Linked DNA regions of Homo sapiens: region 2 is linked to region 1. Evidence: promoter capture Hi-C in 16 types of primary human blood cells and fetal thymus (Javierre and others, 2016). All regions are on one chromosome and are shown on one strand. Each heading gives the region's core, a stretch centred on a gene start or on the middle of the fragment in contact. The rest is flanking DNA. Distances are from core to core; before and after follow the strand shown. Region 1 holds the start of CDH4 (cadherin 4). Region 2 overlaps MIR646HG (MIR646 host gene).

Region 1 (5,211 bases), core at 1,330-3,829:
TTCTCAAATGCTAGTGGCATGAGCATGGACTGGAGAGATTGTTACAAGGTCAGCTTCCAGGCCCCACTTGCAAAAGCTCCAAGTCCATGGATTTCAGGTGGAGCCTAGGAACTGGCATTTTTCATGAGTTTCTCTGTGATTTTGTTGCAGATGATTGCAGACCAGAGGTGGGCGTGGCGGGGAATCCCATCAGCATTCAGAATCAATGTAGCAGGTCTGGGGTAAGGCCTGAGTTTCTGCATTTTTAACAAGCTCCTGGGGGATCTTGATGCTGCTGGTCTGGGGACCACACTCAGAGTGACAGGCTGAAGACCATTCTTTGGAGGCACTGCTTTGTATTTTAGGTCATATTTTTCTTTTCTGTCTCAGCAATCTTTGCTGCTGCATTCAGAGTAAGTCTGATAAACCAATGCTCTCTACTGGACTCCTGTCAGTTACTGCAGTGTTTCTGAAACTATGTATTTCGGAAAATGCGAGTTCCCGTAAGACATTACAGCTGTGTAAGAAGGTTTCTTTGAACAAAGTTGGGGCCATGCTGCGTGTGCCAGGGTCCCAGCTCTGGGTGAGAATGCTGGCACTGCAGCTTTCCCCGTGCCTGCCCTCTGCACCCTCCTCTGCCTGACTGTATAGTGGAGTTAGAAGGACTCCAAGAGCAACTTTACATAAAGCTCCTACACATGTCCCTGGCACATAGCTAGCACCTTGTAAGGACAGGCTATTGTCAAACTCTACCCTTTCTGGAAATCACGCTGCAGTAGACTCAAGATTCATTCAGTAGTAGAGGGAGATGTGCTTAACACAGTGTTTGGAGTTCAGGACCCACCTGCTCCTGGACCCCAGTCTCCCTGCCACACACTCATACCTTTTCTTTTTCAAATTGGCGCGCTCCTCAGCGCTTCAACAGTTTCGCAGAGCACGTTGGAGCAAATGCGGGGGTCTGTGATGCCTCTCCAAAGAAATAACTCGCATAATGCTCAGGCCTCCTGCAGACAAAGGTGTATCCCCAGCGACAGATATTTTAAGAAAATAGACCAGGGACACAAGACAAGAGAGCTGTCTTGGTGTCTAAAGCAGTCTTGGACAGCTTCTGATGTCGCTCGAGCAGTGGTGAAGCACCTTGAATAAGGAGGAAAGCAGAGGGGGCGTCTTCCCAAAGGACGGGCACATGGCCGAGGAATGGAATTCTCTGTCCATGAGGATTTTGGATGGATCTGTTCATGAAACCTCACTGGCTACGCAGGACCTTCGAGTGAGTCTAAACCTCCAGCCATGTCAACTGGTAACCTCTCCTTCTTCGGCTAGGTGGGGAGTGGGACAAGGCCATAACTGATAGGAGTCCAGGCTGGGGCAGATTTTGTGTCTCCTGACTAGTTCCATAGTTAAGTTGCAAAACCGAATCTCGCCTTGTGCTCTCGGATGTAGTGCTTACTCTGGTCCTCTGGGGTTATCTAAAATCTGGTTTCCTTAAGCGTAAGGCAGAGCTCTAACCGGGAGACCACCCTGCCCCCAAGGGTGGGGGTTCTGGGAGGGAGAGAGGGAAGCGGCTGCTCTGTAGCTTTCTCTACTGGCTTGCCCAAGTGGACTCTGATCTTGGAGCTCAACAGTGTCACTCAATCTTCCACCCTCTCCTTTGCAACCTATTTCTTAAACCAGAACTAATGTATTCTGGACACAGAGTCCCTGAAACCCCAGACAAAGAAAATTCGATGTATCTGAACAAACAAAACCGCGTTTCTTTAAATCTCCAAGCCAAAAGGAAAAGTGCAGAAACATTTACTCACTGTCCGACCTGTACATATATTTTACCTGATAACCCTTAAAGAAGTGCCCCCCAGTTCAGCCATCACCCATGCAGGGCAAAGGGAGCTGGAGCTGGCCCAGCCTGTCGGCGCAGACACTCCTGACAGCTCCTGTCTGGGCACTTCTTTCTTTCTTGGAGCTTCTAATTTCTTTCTTGGCTTCTGAGGCCTAACAGGGTGTTTTGATGCACACACAGGAATTACTACCGTCCCCAATCCTAGGGTACATCCCTAGCCCAGGCCAGGGCTTTGAGTTTTCCTAGGAGCGGGAGGGTCTGCAAAGCCCCACAGGCTGAAATCTCAGCGTGGCCCTCTGCTCATCTGCTCCAGGTGGAAACTCTCACCCCTGAGCTGCCCGACCTGGGTTCAAGCCCGGGTCAGGGGAGTTAGCAAGGAGACACCTGAAAAATAAAAGGACAGAATGGAAGTGCACACTCCCACCGCGGGCCCGGGCGGGAAGTCGGACTAAGACCGCGGCGGGACCGCCCCATCCAGAAAGGGTGCCCCGGGTGTGGGGGCGGAAACCCCAGCGCTGTCTTCAGTCTCCACACCCGCGCCTTTTTCCCCTGGAAAACGAGCGTCCTTGGCCTCTTCGGCCGCAACCGGGCGGCTCCAGACGTCCAGGAGGGCAGAGGCTGGGCTGGTGCGGCGCGGGGGGCGCGGGCGCGGGCTCTGCGCCTTTAAGGCCCGCGTCGGCAGAGCGAGCGCAGGGGCCGGGCGGCGGGGCGGGGCCTCGGCGGGGCGGCCGCGGCTTCACCTGCAGCTCCGAGCGCGCGGAACAGAGGCGCGGGCGGCTGCGAGGCCGGCGGACGCACCGGCCCGAGGGAACGCGCCGCCGGCCGGACTTGGCCTGGCTCCCGGAGCCGGGGCGGCGAGCGCGGCGGGCGCAGCGGGGCTGGAGGCTCCGGGCAGGCGCGGGGGAGCGGCGGCGGCGGCGGCGATCGGAGCGGCGGCGGTGGTCTCGGCGGCGGCGGCGGCGGCGGCGGCAGGGAGCGGGCTCCCGGTGCCGGGCACCGGGCGGGCGGCGGGGAAGATGACCGCGGGCGCCGGCGTGCTCCTTCTGCTGCTCTCGCTCTCCGGCGCGCTCCGGGTAAGTTGCCGCCTCCCGCCCCCGCCGTTCGGAAGCCCCGGGCAGCGGGAGGTCGTCCCCGGATCCCGCGGGGCGCTCACACACCCGGCGGGGCTCTCCCGGGCTCCCCCGCCGCGCTCCCCGCTGCATCCAGCCCGGCGCCCGCGCTCGGCGAAGCTGCCTGCGGTCGGCAGGAGCGGGAAGCCGCCTGGGCAGCGGGGAGCGGCGGAGCAGGGTGGGAGTGGGGCTCGGTGGAGGACCCGGGGAGCTCCGCCTGCACCGGACCCGCCGAGCCTCCCTCGAACGCCCAAAGCCCGTAGCCGCTACCCGGAGCTCGGCTTGCCTGCATGGGGCAGGCTTCCACTGGCGGAGCCGGCGCGCCCTCCATCGCCCGGGAGCCGCGCGCCGCGGGAGTTGCCGAGCCCAGCCCCGGCCGTGGCTGAAGGCGTGGGGCGCCCGGCGGCTGCGGGCCAGGGATCCGCGAGTGCGGGGCGCCTGCCCGACCTCTCCTGCCCAAGGCCTGGGGGTCCGTCTAGCGGCGCCGCTCAGTTCTGTGGGTGCCGGCAGGACCCGCGCTGCGGGTGGGCGGCGGGGTAGGACTGCGGGGCACTCTCACCCCCGAGCCCTCGGCGGGGCTGGAGCCTGCGTGTCCGGCGGGGCCCCGGGGGCTGGGAGCTGGGCCGGGCTTGGGCCGGGAAGCCGGACGCCGGGCGGGCGCGGCGCGGGAGGGCGCCCCGGGAGGGCGAGCGGGTCTCCCGCTGCCTCTGCAGAGCCCCGCGGGCCGGATTGCCAGCTTTGCTCTGCGCCTGGCGAGGTGCGCGGCCCGCGGGGGCAGAGAGCGCGGCGGCTCCGGGGGCGCCCCTGGGCGGAGGCGGAGGGGCGGCGGGAGTTGCAGGAACCCCCTCTCGTGGCCGATCGGCCTCGCTGCCTTCTCCCGGGCAGCGCTGTTGTAACCTCGGAAATAAACAAGTGCCAGCGGCGGGAGGCCCGCTCCGAGGCCGCGGGGCGCTGGGGGACGCGCTGGGCACACGCTTCGGGCGGGCGGAAACTTTCCTGGGCGAGTTGAGCCTCCCACCGGGCTGCGGGTGCGATTTGGAGCTTCGTGGCCGATGAAGAAAGCCGCGGTTTAGAGCTTTTCGTAAGGAATGACCCTGCGTCCCGCTCTCCTCCCTCGGTGCTGGGGGTAGAGGGGCGCCCTCCGCGGTGCCGGCGTCGGGAAGCCTGGAGCTCCGGGCTGGGGGCGGCCTCCGGAGTCGAAGCATGGGCGGGCGACGGCAGCGCGCGGAGCTGGAGGAGGCGGCGGGCGGGAGGCGCCACTGCCCGGTGCGGGCTGCACCCGAGGCTTCCTGCGCTCGCCGGGGAGCCAAGCACCGCTGTGCTCCTGCTCCTTCAGCGGGGCTGGCTTCCCGCTTGCACACACTGCCTCTCCCTCCACCACCTCCTCCTGCCTGTCACGCCCCCTCCCAGAAGCTTGGTCGGAGGGCCCTGTCGTCCACCCCATCCTTCCCTGGCCCTGTGCCATGGGCTCTAGACTTCCCCACTGAGCAGGAAAGGCGAGCGAGCTCCGGAGGACAGGAGGAGACCCCCTTTCCGGTCAGTTAGGGGAGCCGTCTCCCTGCCTGGGCTGGAGATGGGGGCTCCGAGGGTGAAAATGCGGGCTGAAGACTAGAAGGTGGAAGCGCCCCCACTGCCTCCTCACCCCAGCCACCGGCAGCCTCCCGCAGAGCTGCCTTCTTCGACCGGCTCCGGACCTAGTCCTAGAGAATCTTCTTCCTTTCTCTCCTCTTTCTCCTCCCTCCCGGTGACCTGGAGAGGAGACAAGAAGCTGCCTCCTCCGCCTTACCAAGAGCGCAGAGCGGTGGGCCTAAAGCGCGAATGGTCTGAGCAGAGCCGCCCACACTTTGGCCTCCCTGCCCTTAGTGGCTTCGGGAGCAGCGGCTGAAGTCTTCTGTCTCTGCCTTTTGGTCATTTCTCAGGCGTCTCCTCTGCCAATAAGGCCCTGGCCGGCCTGGCTTCCCCAACAGTCCGTCCTTCACTCCCTGCCTGCTGTGTGTGGGGCTGGGGAAGGATGCTCCTGGTCTGTAGCCTGGAGAGTGCTCCCTAAAGTCCCCAGAGAGCAGAGGAGCAGACGGGGTATCGCGTCTGGGTGGAGACGGTGGCCTGCCAGCCTTTCTCTCTTAGCCAGAGACCTTTTACACAGCAGGCCCTGGATGAATGTTGGTTGGATTAAATTTCTGTGAACTTATTGTTTTACACTCTCCCCTTTGTGTTCTCAGGCCCATAATGAGGATCTTACAACTAGAGAGACCTGCAAGGCTGGGTTCTCTGAAGATGATTACACGG
Region 2 (5,071 bases), core at 1,941-4,440, 1.0 Mb before region 1:
TAGTTTTACAAACTTAGGAGTTACATGTTCCTTATTAAAATTTATTGGTGGAGGAGAAGAAGAGAATAGAAGAGGAAAATATCAATTGTTCCGTTTTGAGTACATGTTTCTCTTGATTAGTGAAGGGTTATTTCCAAATTTAATATGAGATGTTGGTGATCTGACGTTTAACATTTGAAGTTACTTAGAGTAACTTATTTCCCCAAATTCAGTAATGCCAAGAAACACAATTAAGCTGATTAACTCCATGGAATGGGCCGTCTGTGCTGTTTAATCCATTTTGGGGATGGTGACCTCCGACACCACACTTTGGCATCAGTATTGATGACTTCGTACATTTCCTGGCCCTCTCTACACTGGGGAAGTCATGTAACCACAGAAATAGTATTTATTTTTCTTACATGTTAAATCCCATCCCAAATCATATGGGAAGAGCAAAACGACAGTGCAAATTATAATCCAAACGAGATAAAGTGACAACAGTAGACCAGGAGGTCTTGAAAGTTAAAAGGCAAATAAAATCAGCCACTCAGAGAAACGAAGCCAGAGCAAACACAGGCAAAGGTCCGGGAAGGGCAGGAAAGAGTCCAGAGCTGAAGACCTGGCAGGCGGGAGGGTGGAGGTGGGGTTCAGGGGCTTTGCCAAGCAGGTTACCTGAGGGTCTTCATTCGGGGAGGAGGCTCTTTCCATCTCTCCACAGTGTCAAGTAGGAGTGATATTTGCCTGAGGCCAAAGCGGGTAGTGAGGGCTCCAGGTCACAAAGCCAGTGAGTCAGTGACCTCCAGAGAGCCAGGGTGGCTCCCACACCCAGAAAACAAGATCTGTCAGCCAGCAGCAGCTGGCCCTGCCCCTGCCCACAATCTCAGAAAGCAGGCATCAATAAATGGACCAGGCAGGAAACCAGGGCGTTTAACACATAAAGATAAGCAAATCATCACACATCAGCAGACACTTGAGAGAAATCAACAGTGGGGTGCATGACTCCAAATGCATCCAACTGAAGAACCAAAATGTAACGAATGGGAATAACCCAGCAAACTGAAGAAAATGGAGCAACTTTAGGTACTTTGGAGAGATTCAAGTATGTAAAGCATCATCTATGATGTAAATGAATCCACCAGAGATCTAAGAAGTTAAAAATGGGATTATTGAAATGCTGTATTAAGCTCCATGCATGGGCTGAGTAGCAGAATGGATATAGCTAAAGCTTAAGGGATTCTTCTAGAATGCACCAACATTCTATGTGTAAGATAGATGAGAGAATGTAAGATAGATAAGAGGCATAGAGAATGAATCTCCACGATGGACATCTAGTTAAAGAATTCTGGGAAGGAAGAAAAGAGGCAATGTGGAGAAGGAATTGAAAAGAAAAAATCAGTGAAAATTTTCCAGAGTTACAAAAAGACACGTGTCATCATATTGAAGGTACCCACTGCATTGGGAGCAGGAGAAATAAGAAAGGCCTGCGCTGGACACATTGTGCTGAATTTTCAGAAAACCAAGGCCGAGTAGAATATCAAAAGCTCCCAGAAAGAAAAATGAGGTTTCTTGCAAAGAAACACAGTTCAGATCGGCATTAGACTTCTCACTGCCAGTGTCAGATGTTAGGAGATGATGTGGGACTTGGCAGTTCTGAGGGAAGCTGGCTTGCACGTAGGATCTTGTGTTGAGCCGAAATCACATTCAGGTTAGAGAGCAAAATGGAACCCTGCAGAGATGCAAGGACCCAAAAAGCTTGCCTTCCAGAGATACTCTGAGGATGACTCGAGTATGTCCTCAAGCACCGTGAGAGTAAATCCAAAATTAGTACATGTTTGCAACACAATTCAAATAATGCAAACATGTACAAAGTAGAAAGTGAATTTCCTCCTTTTCCTCCCACCCCCAAGATAGCCACTGTTTGTAACATCACAGTGTAGAACACATTCTTCCAGATATTATGTGTGTGTGCGTGTGTGTGTGTGTAGAACACACATCTTTACAGAAAGACCACATTCTACATGATTTTGGCAAAGCTGCTTTTGTAACTGGAAATTTTACTATGGCAAACAGTCCAGTCTCCTTACGTGCATAACTCCTGGTTCATGGCAAATTGGTTCATGGTAAATTTCACACAGGCTTCTGTGCCCTAGAGGGCCTTAATTTATTTTACCAGTCCTATTAACAATGTTTACATTGCTTTTATATTTCACTACTAAACGAACACTGCAGTGAGTATCCCTTGGATTTTTATCTCTGCATACAAGCTAATATTTATGCAAGATAAACCTCTAGAATTGGAATAATTGCTAGATTAGAGGAAATGGCCAATTAAAAAAGTGATAGATCTTACTAACTCTTCCTCCAACATAATAGTAACCATTTATTATTTATTATTTTTATTTTTTTAAAGACGAGGTCTCACTCTGTTGCCCAGGCTGGCGTGCAGTGGCGTGATCACAGGTCACTGCCGCCTGGAACTCCCAGGTTCAAGCGATCCTCCCACCTTGGCCTCCCCAGTAGCTACAACTACAGGTCCATGCCACGCCACCGTGCCAGGCTAATTTTTATTTTCGGTAGACACGGTGTCTCACTATGTTGCTCAGGCTGGTCTCAAACTCCTGGACTTAAGTAACCCTCCCACCTCGGCCTCCCAAAGTGCTGGGATTACAGATGTCAGCCACTGTGCCTGGCCCATTTATTCTTTAGATGACCGAGTTGGGCATTCAGCTCATCCAGGGATGGGTGTGTGTGTGTGTGTGCTGGGGAAGGGGTGCTGGTATCGGAGCTTCTGAATCCTGAAAGTGTCGGACGGGGCTGAACCACAGGGTTGAGCGTCCTGCCTGGGCTGTGAAGTTTCTCCTACAGATGGCGCTGTTGCCTCGCGCCTGTCACTCAGGCCGAGGGGCAGAGTGGTAATTCTAAGACAAAAAGAAATTAAGCAGCACGCAAGCGGGCTGCCGCATTTTTATGTTTATGCCGAGACGACCCAAATCTATGTTTCTTCACCTTCCTGGCTGTACAACTCAGATAACTTTGTGATCCACTCTTCTTCAGAAGGAAGAAAGAAAAGATTCTATTTGACCGTCTTTTTTGAAATCCTTAGAAATCCACCCTTTGAACATAAGTCTTTGAGAACTTCCATCAATGTGCATAGTGAGTGTGTTTCAGGAGAAGAAATAATTTAGATTTTAGCTCAGTATTTTGTTTTTCATTCTATTTCTTCTTCTAAAAACAAAAACAAAAACCTCTTGATCCAAAGGAAACACATGGAGAATGGAGAATTCCACAGCAGCCTTGCAGCATGAGCGGCTCCGGATGGCCCTGCCTCTGGGCTCCAGACCCCCAGTGTTTGGTTCCAGGGCTTCTGCCCAGTGGTGATGGGGCTGGGAGACTAGACTCACTGTGTTGGGAGAGCAGTGGGTGTCTCCTGGGCAGGAGAGCCTCATCCCTGTGCGCACCCACGCTGGGGCCTTCTAGGTGTGTGTCCCCGAGTGTGTTCAGTATGTCTCATGTGTTCAAGTGACAGACTCGAGCTGGTAAGGACCTGGAGTGCCTTTCTACCCAGGCAGAAATCAGGAATAAAGTGTGAGCTGTTGACAATCAGGCTTCCCGGACTGTAACTACCAGGTTCAGAACATGCTTGGAGTTAGGTTTTAAATGTAAGTGGTAAGACTGTCCTCTCTGCCCGTTTGAAATGAGCACAGGCCGTGTTGCAGGTCTCTGATTCGGAGTAAAGATGAGCCTGGCTTCCTCTGCGGAGGAGGCCAGAAGCAGGTGCGGAGGGCTTAGCAGAGGCCTTTGCACTCAGAGACTTGCATCTCCTGCATCTTTTTAGGCCTGGAAGGCACCCGCATGCTCCTCTCGGCGCAAAGGTTCCAGGAGGTGGTGACCTTGATGAATCTCAGTCAAGATTATGAATAATTTAGGAGTAACACAACCCAGCCAGAGAATGCTTTCCCAGACAGCAGACAGGCTGCCGTTCTTCCAGGCGTCCCTAAATGGGCATCAGATATAGGAAGACTGGTGGGCACAGCAGCGGAGGGCTTTTTTCTTGGCATTATTAAAAGCTGACGTGCTTCTTTGTGTGAGTTGCTTGTTCCACTGACATAGAATTGTTTTGTTGTCACTGTAGCTTTAGTGTACACATAAGCAAAGCAAGCTCTTTAGGTACCGTGAAAAAGCGATGGTGGATATTTCTGTGTGTCTTGAGCATAAATTGTAAGAAAACCAAACAGATTTTAAAGGGTTTGGGGGGGATGGCGGGGAGATCTGGGTGTTTGCAGAAGAAGGGACTGTGGCTGGGGGTTCTGAACAGGCACTGCCATATGTCCCAGGCCACGTTTAGTGCACAGTGATTATGGCAAAGGTGGGAACTTGAAGGGGTGACCTGGTAGCATTATGCTAGAACCTGAGTGGCAGTGGTCCTGGGCTGGACACAGGAGCCTGGCCCTAGTGAAGGATCTTGGGCAGCGGTCAGGGAGCAAAGGCCTTGGGGTCATGGCCAGAGGTCAAGAGCTAAGTGGTATCTGGGAGCCAAGAGGTCAAGGCAAAGGGCCTCCTGCCAGTGTTTAATGTTGGCCAGAAGCAAACTCAAGGCTTGGGAGGCAGGTCAGCAAAGCAGGAAGGAATGGGCCGGGGAGGACCCAGGTAACAAGAACTTGGTGGAAGCTTAGTGAGAAAGCAAGTGGGGTGGAGAGGGAGGGATTCATATCGCAGGCATCATTTCACGGTCATGTGCCATGTGGCATGGGGTGCGTGGGAGGCCTCACGTGGGTTTCTCCTGCTGGCAGGAAGGGCTCCATCCTGTGCTCAACCCTGGGGATGCTGGACAGCTTTGAGGAGGTCACAGAACCAGGCCAGTGTTCGAACTCAGGAGCCGAATGTGGAGCCTGTGCTCGTAGGTGTCGCTAATTCCACTCCTGCTTCCTGTGTCCTGTAAGCTTAAGTGACATGCTCCAGGCAGCGCTTAATCTAGGGCGTCTGGATTCCCACCCAGGCGTTTCAGACGCCCAAGCCCAGCCTCCTCGACTCAGCCATGCTGCTATGCCTCTGACTGTGGATCCCAGGCCAAAGACAGAGGTTCTAACCC

What was found. The method cuts DNA at HindIII sites, captures the fragments that hold promoters and counts their contacts. A CHiCAGO score of 5 or more calls a contact.
Region 2: a contact is called between a fragment that was not itself captured here and the fragment with the promoter of CDH4 in region 1, in 4 of 17 cell types (M0 macrophages, endothelial precursors, naive CD8 T cells and 1 more). The highest score is 8.2, in M0 macrophages.

The regions. Positions count from the first base shown.
Region 1 is chr20:61,249,682-61,254,892 of GRCh38, forward strand. It overlaps CDH4 (cadherin 4), which reads left to right and starts at 2,580. Exons shown (of 16, transcript NM_001794.5): 1 at 2,580-2,889; 2 at 5,145-5,211. The coding sequence starts at 2,833. RefSeq lists an enhancer at 4,684-5,211. The HindIII fragment of the contact is 4,745 bases long and covers 1-4,336 here.
Region 2 is chr20:60,208,429-60,213,499 of GRCh38, forward strand. All of the region lies in intron 3 of MIR646HG (MIR646 host gene), which reads left to right. Among named protein-coding and RNA genes, the nearest start is that of MIR646HG, 72 kb to the left of the region's middle. RefSeq lists a silencer at 2,712-2,951 and an enhancer at 4,823-5,071. The HindIII fragment of the contact is 2,916 bases long and covers 1,733-4,648 here.